Regions from separate parts of the Homo sapiens genome. Here region 1 is linked to region 2. Evidence: promoter capture Hi-C in 16 types of primary human blood cells and fetal thymus (Javierre and others, 2016). All regions are on one chromosome and are shown on one strand. Each heading gives the region's core, a stretch centred on a gene start or on the middle of the fragment in contact. The rest is flanking DNA. Distances are from core to core; before and after follow the strand shown. Region 1 has its middle 5.7 kb from the start of AK5. Region 2 holds the start of RABGGTB (Rab geranylgeranyltransferase subunit beta).

Region 1 (3,213 bases), core at 693-3,192, 1.5 Mb after region 2:
TTCCTTTGGGGAGATCATGAGCATTTTGCCACACTGGCTATGACTTTGTTTCCTAAAAACCTAGCACAGTGCTTGGCATATAGTATGTGATCAATAAATGTTAGCTAAATGAAACTATGGATATCTAGCAACCCATTGCCACGGCAGAAGTGGAGCACAGAAAAGCCAAGGCTGAAGATAAACAGGTAAAAACGTCGCCTTCTGAGAGGCCATTGGTGTAACTATAAGATAGATGAGTTGAAAGGTGTTTAGAATACATTTAAAAAGTATTTAATGAATACTTCAGACTGAGCATAAGAATACTTTTTCCTTTTACTCTTATCAAATTGTAGATATGAAATGCCAGGGTGATTGTCCCCATGAAGCCACCAGGGCCATGTTAGGAAACACCTTCTTTTGAAAGTGGGTGCTCAGGATAACAGAGATATACAAAAACTTCTCTTCTGCTTTCATAAAAGTGACAGAGACAGGAGATAACCAAGGATCCCCGGCGAAATCCCACCTTCAAGCCTAAAACAGCCTGAAGGCTGACAGAGCAGACTGCTGGTCCCAGATGAAACCCAGACCCAGAGGGAGAACTGCCCCTGTTTACCCACCCTTTCTCAACTAATTCTTTCTGAATAGTGCCCACATGAGCACTGGGGGGATGGGGTGGAGCCACAGGAATTCGTTCCTTGCGCAGCAGGGAGGAGCCTGGCCTCTTCAGCCCATGGGTGGTGGCCTGGCGTTCTGTTCAATCTGTGAGGTGGGAGCCTATTAGCAGGACCTCTTCTTTTTTTGCTGAGAGCTTTCTTTTAATAAATTCTGCTCTCCTCACCTTTCAATGTGTCTGCATGCCTAATCTTTCCTGGTTGCAGGACAAGAACCTCGTTTTAGCTGAACTAAGGAGCAAAAATGTCTGCATCAAAAGTAGTTCCAACATTGAGACTTCCAACATTTCATTAGCATGAAATAATCTTAACAAATATCACCTTCCAATTTCTGAAAATTACAAACAAGAATATTGTGGAAGACAAGAGGAACACAATACAACATTTCCTTAAAAGGAATATGCCATGGGCTTGTGTTGTATTTTCTGGAGGTGAGATGATTAATGACCTCTGAGAATCTATTTGGAGCTTGTAATTTGAAAATAGATTAACTGATGAGAAGCTTTGTTTTGATCCAAATAATGGAAGTGTAACAACAGGCTAGTTTTTAGAAACGGCACGAACAAGCTCATAACAATCTTTTTCTGTCCTAATGATTGCGATTCTGTAAAACTGGTGACCAGGGACAGCTGGATGGGAAGGACACCTAGCACCAATTATCAGGGATTAGTAGACACTCTATTTGTTTGATTTAAATTGCATCCTGTTTGTTAGCTACAGGCATGAGAGATAATCATGAAGGCAATTCAAATACTCGAGCACAAATCATAGTCATGAATAGAGAAACTTGGGTCTATAACTTGCTGCAATTAGTCTTCTTTTCCCCGACATCTCAAGATTAGTTAATGTTGATAGAATTTGAAAATGATAACCCTAGAAAATAACGGAGCAAATACATTTACAAATTCAAAGCACATCAAGCAATGGGGCTGCATATGCTCACAAAACAGAAGTAATATTTAAATGTATTATAAATTATTCAAATCATAATTTTAGAGTATTTATTATGTACATGATAAACTGCATAAGGGTAAACCATGAAGACACATTTTTGGGTCAAGGCAGATGAGAAAAACAAAGGTACATAAATAAGGAAGAAGGCAGGATAGAGGTACAAGTAACATTCTAAAGAGGATAAAGGAAGAAATCACTTAAATCCATTAGGGCTAAATAAAGATGGCTTTTAGAGAGAAGGTTGTCTTTAAATGGAGCCTTGGAGGTATGGAAATATTTGACTAAGTACAAAACAGGAAACTAATTGTATTTGTCAGGTTGGTGCAAAAGTAAATGCAGTTTTTGCCATTAAAAATAATTGCAAATGGCAAAAACTGCAATTACTTTTGCACCAATCTAATATTTAAGTGTAAATAGCCATGTGACGCTAGTGAGTACCATAATGGATGGTGAAGAAAATGGTGGCCACTCAACATTTTTGCACAAGAGAGGGACATTCTTGGAGAAATGTTTTGGTATTAGTTTTCCTCTGCACAATCTAAAATGTTGATTTATTTGGGGAAGGGACCTCTTTAACTTAATCACTACTCATATATCTCCAATAGATCTTTAATTTTATGATTTCATCTGATTAGAAAAACAGTGTAAATGTTAATTGTATTGCAGAAGGACAATTAATAGAAGAAACGTGGTTAAACAGACTAGCTAAAAACAGGAACAGATGGTAAATTCTGGTAAGTTTTAAAATTTTCCAGCACACCAACATGAATGCCTTGTGACTACTGAGAAAAAACACATTTTATTCCTTGGATGGAAAGATTTTATCTTACTCATCCTCGGCTGATTAGTGTATGCAACACTAATACATTGTTCATGAGACATATAGTAAAGACAAAAATAAGCAATGTAAACAACTCAGAAGGGCATACTGGTCCTGATACATATGTATGACTTAGAAATTTTAGGCCTCTAGGCTCAACAGAATTGCTGCTTGTCAATAATGATAAAAATAATAATATAATAAAAACTTAAATGTGTTATTTGCATTCTGTGAAAACAAATTTTTAAAAATCTGTTTTAAAAAATAATCTGTTAAAAATGATCTGTTCGTTTTTCTCTAAGACCTCCAAAAGCTTTTAGTTCTAAGCATATGTTAGAATATTTCTTTAAATCAAAACAATAATGTTTCTCTCTGTATTTTACCTGCAGCTTTGAAACTTAGAGGGTCTTTGGAGTTCAAGTTGCTCCCTTATTTATATCTATCATAGCCAAGTTAGGATTACTGGTTGATGGATGAAGACTAGATTTGATGGAATTACAGATTTCGCATGGGCAGGTAAAATATTCGTGCAGAATGGACATTGAAGTTCTAAAACATTTAAGTTGAAAGCATATCCTGAAGCAAGTGTAAATTCCCCTCTTCCACTTGCACAGAGGTTGTACAATGTGTGAGTCAACCTAACATGTAGGTTACCTTTAGAGCTCAAATGGCTGCTATAAGCCAAGGGTTGCAGATGAAAATGAAGAAATACGGTCAGTAAGCAGTAGGGAGAACCTACCATCTGCCAGACTCCCTTCAGAGCCAGTTGTCCTGTTGCTTCTCTGGGTT
Region 2 (3,490 bases), core at 452-2,951:
TGGACCTTGAGATAGATAAGGCAAACAGGAAGGAAATGTGAACATTTCATTAATATTCATTTAAAAAATATTCATTGAACACTTACTACGTGTAAGCAGGCACTCTACTAATTAACAGCCATTTCAGATTTTCAGAGTGCAAAGGGCCTCAAGAACAAATGATTTATTTTTTTGAGACATGGTCTCGTTCTGTCTCACACCCTGCAGTGCAGTGGCATTATCACCGCTCACTGTAGCCTCCACCCCCTGCCCCACAGCTCAAGTAATTCTCTCACCTCAGCTTCCCCAGTAGCTGAAACCACAGGCTTGGGCAACCACGTCTGGCTCATATTTTTATTATTTGTAGAGACGGGGGTCTTGCAACATTGCCCAGGCTGGTCTGGATCTCCTGGAACCGCCTTTGCAAAATTATAACTGAGGAAATTATGGCAGTGAAAGAAATCAGACCTAACGGATTCCATCTTGCTTCTAACTTTTGTTTTTGAGACTAGTCTCGCTCTGTCGCCCAGGGTGGAGTGCAGTGGCGTGATCTCTGCTCACTGCAAGCTCCGCCTCCCGGGTTTAAGCCATTCTCCTGCCTCAACCTCAGGAGTAGATGGGACTACAGGCGCCCACCCCCACGCCCGGCTAATTTTTTGTATTTGTAGTAGAGACGGGGTTTTAGCCAGGATGGTCTCGATCCCCTGACCTCGTGATCCGCCCGCCTTGGCCTCCCAAAGTGCTGGGATTACAGGCGTGAGCCACCGGCCGCTTCTAACTTTTAAGCTGTCCTTCTTCATTCCTGAGCCTAGGCTGAACCAATTTAGGGAGGAATTCAGTTTATGGTTTGACTCTGAAACAAAATTGATAATATCCCTTTCCCAAAAAGACCGCTTTTTTGCCTGGGGACCAGTCTGCCTTTGCAGAACCAACAGATTAGCTACAAGATTAGAAATTACAGTTTAGAGGTCATGCAGCCTCTGGCTCCAAGTTTCTGAACCTCCCCAAATTGCTCCTGGGGATAACATCACTATTGTAAAACCTAAGATAAGTTCTTGAGATATTTTGCAGACCCTGCTCTCCATGGATCAGTTGAAACCACCCAGATTGGTAATTTGGCTCAACCAGTTCTGCCATCCTACCCAGGAACAGAAAACAGCAAGAAAAACTCACGTCTACCCACTATGAGTCCATCTCCAACCTGACCCATCAGCACTCCCTACTTCCCAAGCCCCTAATCGCCGAATTATCTTTAAAAACTCTGAATACTGCTTGGGGAGACTCCATTGCAAGTCCCCTGTCTTGATAAATGGGCTATCGGTCAGCAGCAGGCAAAGTGAACCACAATATTGGGTGGTTACACTCCTAGGATCAAGCAATCCTGCTGTCCGGCTTCCCAAAGTGCTGGGATTACAGGCGTAAGCCACCGCGTCCAGCTAGAACAAATGATTTCTTAAAAGCAACTCAGATATTTAAATATTATTTAAAACTGTTTCTAGACAAATCGGAGTGACTATGGGACAAGCATATGGTCGCAGGACTTTGGACGCAGGCAGTGAGGACACCTATGAGCGATCAGTGGGGTCCTACGGCAGCCGTGGAACTGCTCTGCCTTGCAGGCGAAAGTGTGGTCAGCTATATCGGAGCGCGATGGGGGCCTGAGAGGCGCATCTGCGCAGGCGCCCGGCTCCTAAGTCTACCCAGGAACTGACCCTGCTCTCTCCTTTCCCTGTTAGACATGGTAAGTGTGAGTTTAGCGCTGCTGTCCGGATGGGTTGGTAGCAGACAGGGTGGAGTAGGGTTAAGCACACTGGTCACCTTAGGATTGGTTTCCTGGTGCTGGAGAATGGTTAGGACACAGGCCTTGGAAGGTTTTTTGAGTGTGAAATATTACTCAGCGTTTTCTGCAGACCTCGCGGGCAATGCCGCTTCTAATTTTATCCAGGCCTTCTTCTGTAGGGAGGGCCTGTTAAGAGTTGAGCAGCCCGATTTCTGAACCCCTCTAAAAAGCTGTGGCTGATTGGTGGCTTTTTTTTTTCTTGGAGAGGGGGTGTCAAAGATTTCTTTAAAATCGTTAGTGATGTGGTCTCGCTTTAAGATTTTTAATGGGATCAGAAGAAAATTCGGTACTTAATCACTTCCGGTAATCTTCATGACCTGTTATAGTGACTGCAGTGTACTCTCAATGAGGAAGATATAGATACGAAAAGAACTAGAGCCGCATCACATGGGGACTTCTGCAAATACAGAGACTCGGATTAAAGGTGGAGAAGATGGAGCTAAAGGAACTGCTTATTTAATACATTTGAACAACTTTTGGGGTACTTAGAAGGTGCTTTGAAACCTGCATTTGATTAAGCAAGAATTCGCTTGCAAGTTAAGGGTTAGATTTTTTTATTTTTTAAAAATATGCTTTCTGCCACATGTAAACCGTAAGTTGTCCTGAAATGATAAGCTTTGATATTCTATGGTGTTTATTTTTTACTTATCTTTTTGAATGAAAAGTGAACAACAAGAAATGCTGGTGGTAATTTTTTGGGTCAATGATGAGTTGGCATGTATTCTGAATCTAAAGTTGATTATTACTACTTTAGCTCTAGAATTACTCTGAGACCTGAAAATTACCTGAATCGTGACTAAGACGAAGCCTGAATGATTTAAGTTCTTTTTTGTTGGATACAATTTGTTGTTGTTGTTGTTGTTTTGGTTTTGTTTTTGAGTCGGTCTCCGGTCGCCCAGGATGGAGTGCAGTGACACAACCTCAGTTCACTGCAGCCTTAATTTCCCTGGCTCAAGCGATCTTCTACCTCAGCCTCCCTAGTTAGTTACAATTTTTAAATGGAACGTTTTCCTATTACAAGATGAAATCAAGTGAAAATTGAGATGTATGTTGAATCTATGCTGTGGGGCAGAAGAACGTTGTAGAGGTAAACATTGATGAGATTACCACTTTATTTTGAAAGGGCACTCCACAGAAGGATGTTATTATCAAGTCAGATGCACCGGACACTTTGTTATTGGAGAAACATGCAGATTATATCGCATCCTATGGCTCAAAGAAAGATGATTATGTATGTATAATTTTTTTATGTTGGAAAGTTTATTTTAAAGAAGTGTGACAGTCATAAGCAGTGAGACAGTATTTATGTCTTAAAATGGCATCCAACTCCATGCAGAGAACTGAGGATGTGCTGTGCCTTTGAACTTCAGTTAAGTGTGCTTTGGACGTCTGAGGCTGTGGGCTTATTAGAATCTCAGTTTTTACCTATACTGAGAGGGCTTGCCAGACAAAGTAGATGAGGGTTTGAGGTACAAAACGGGTTTCTCTTTTTGTAGTTAGGGGTAATACTTTCAAGGTCAATGATGTGTTGGCATGTATTATCTGAATCTATTGCTGATGTGTAATAACACTTTAGCTCTAGAATTACTCTGAGACCTTGAAAAAGTTTTACCTTAAATTTTTAAATTTCGAGGAAAACTCTGGGACAATCTTAGCAAAAAGTAGTAAACA

The links. Contacts are between HindIII fragments. The CHiCAGO score rates a contact against its expected background, and 5 or more counts as called.
Region 1: a contact is called between a fragment that was not itself captured here and the fragment with the promoter of RABGGTB in region 2, in 1 of 17 cell types (M1 macrophages). The highest score is 5.9, in M1 macrophages.

What each region holds. Positions count from the first base shown.
Region 1 is chr1:77,274,730-77,277,942 of GRCh38, forward strand. No RefSeq gene overlaps it. Among named protein-coding and RNA genes, the nearest start is that of AK5, 5.7 kb to the right of the region's middle. The HindIII fragment of the contact is 1,585 bases long and covers 1,151-2,735 here.
Region 2 is chr1:75,784,555-75,788,044 of GRCh38, forward strand. RABGGTB (Rab geranylgeranyltransferase subunit beta) reads left to right here and starts at 1,702. Exons shown (of 9, transcript NM_004582.4): 1 at 1,702-1,720; 2 at 2,943-3,050. The coding sequence starts at 1,718. SNORD45C (small nucleolar RNA, C/D box 45C) reads left to right here and starts at 2,518; the gene lies at 2,518-2,595. It overlaps SNORD45A (small nucleolar RNA, C/D box 45A), which reads left to right and starts at 3,335; the gene lies at 3,335-3,418. RefSeq lists enhancers at 284-503, 1,444-1,673 and a silencer at 1,734-1,793. The HindIII fragment of the contact is 7,492 bases long and covers 1-2,432 here.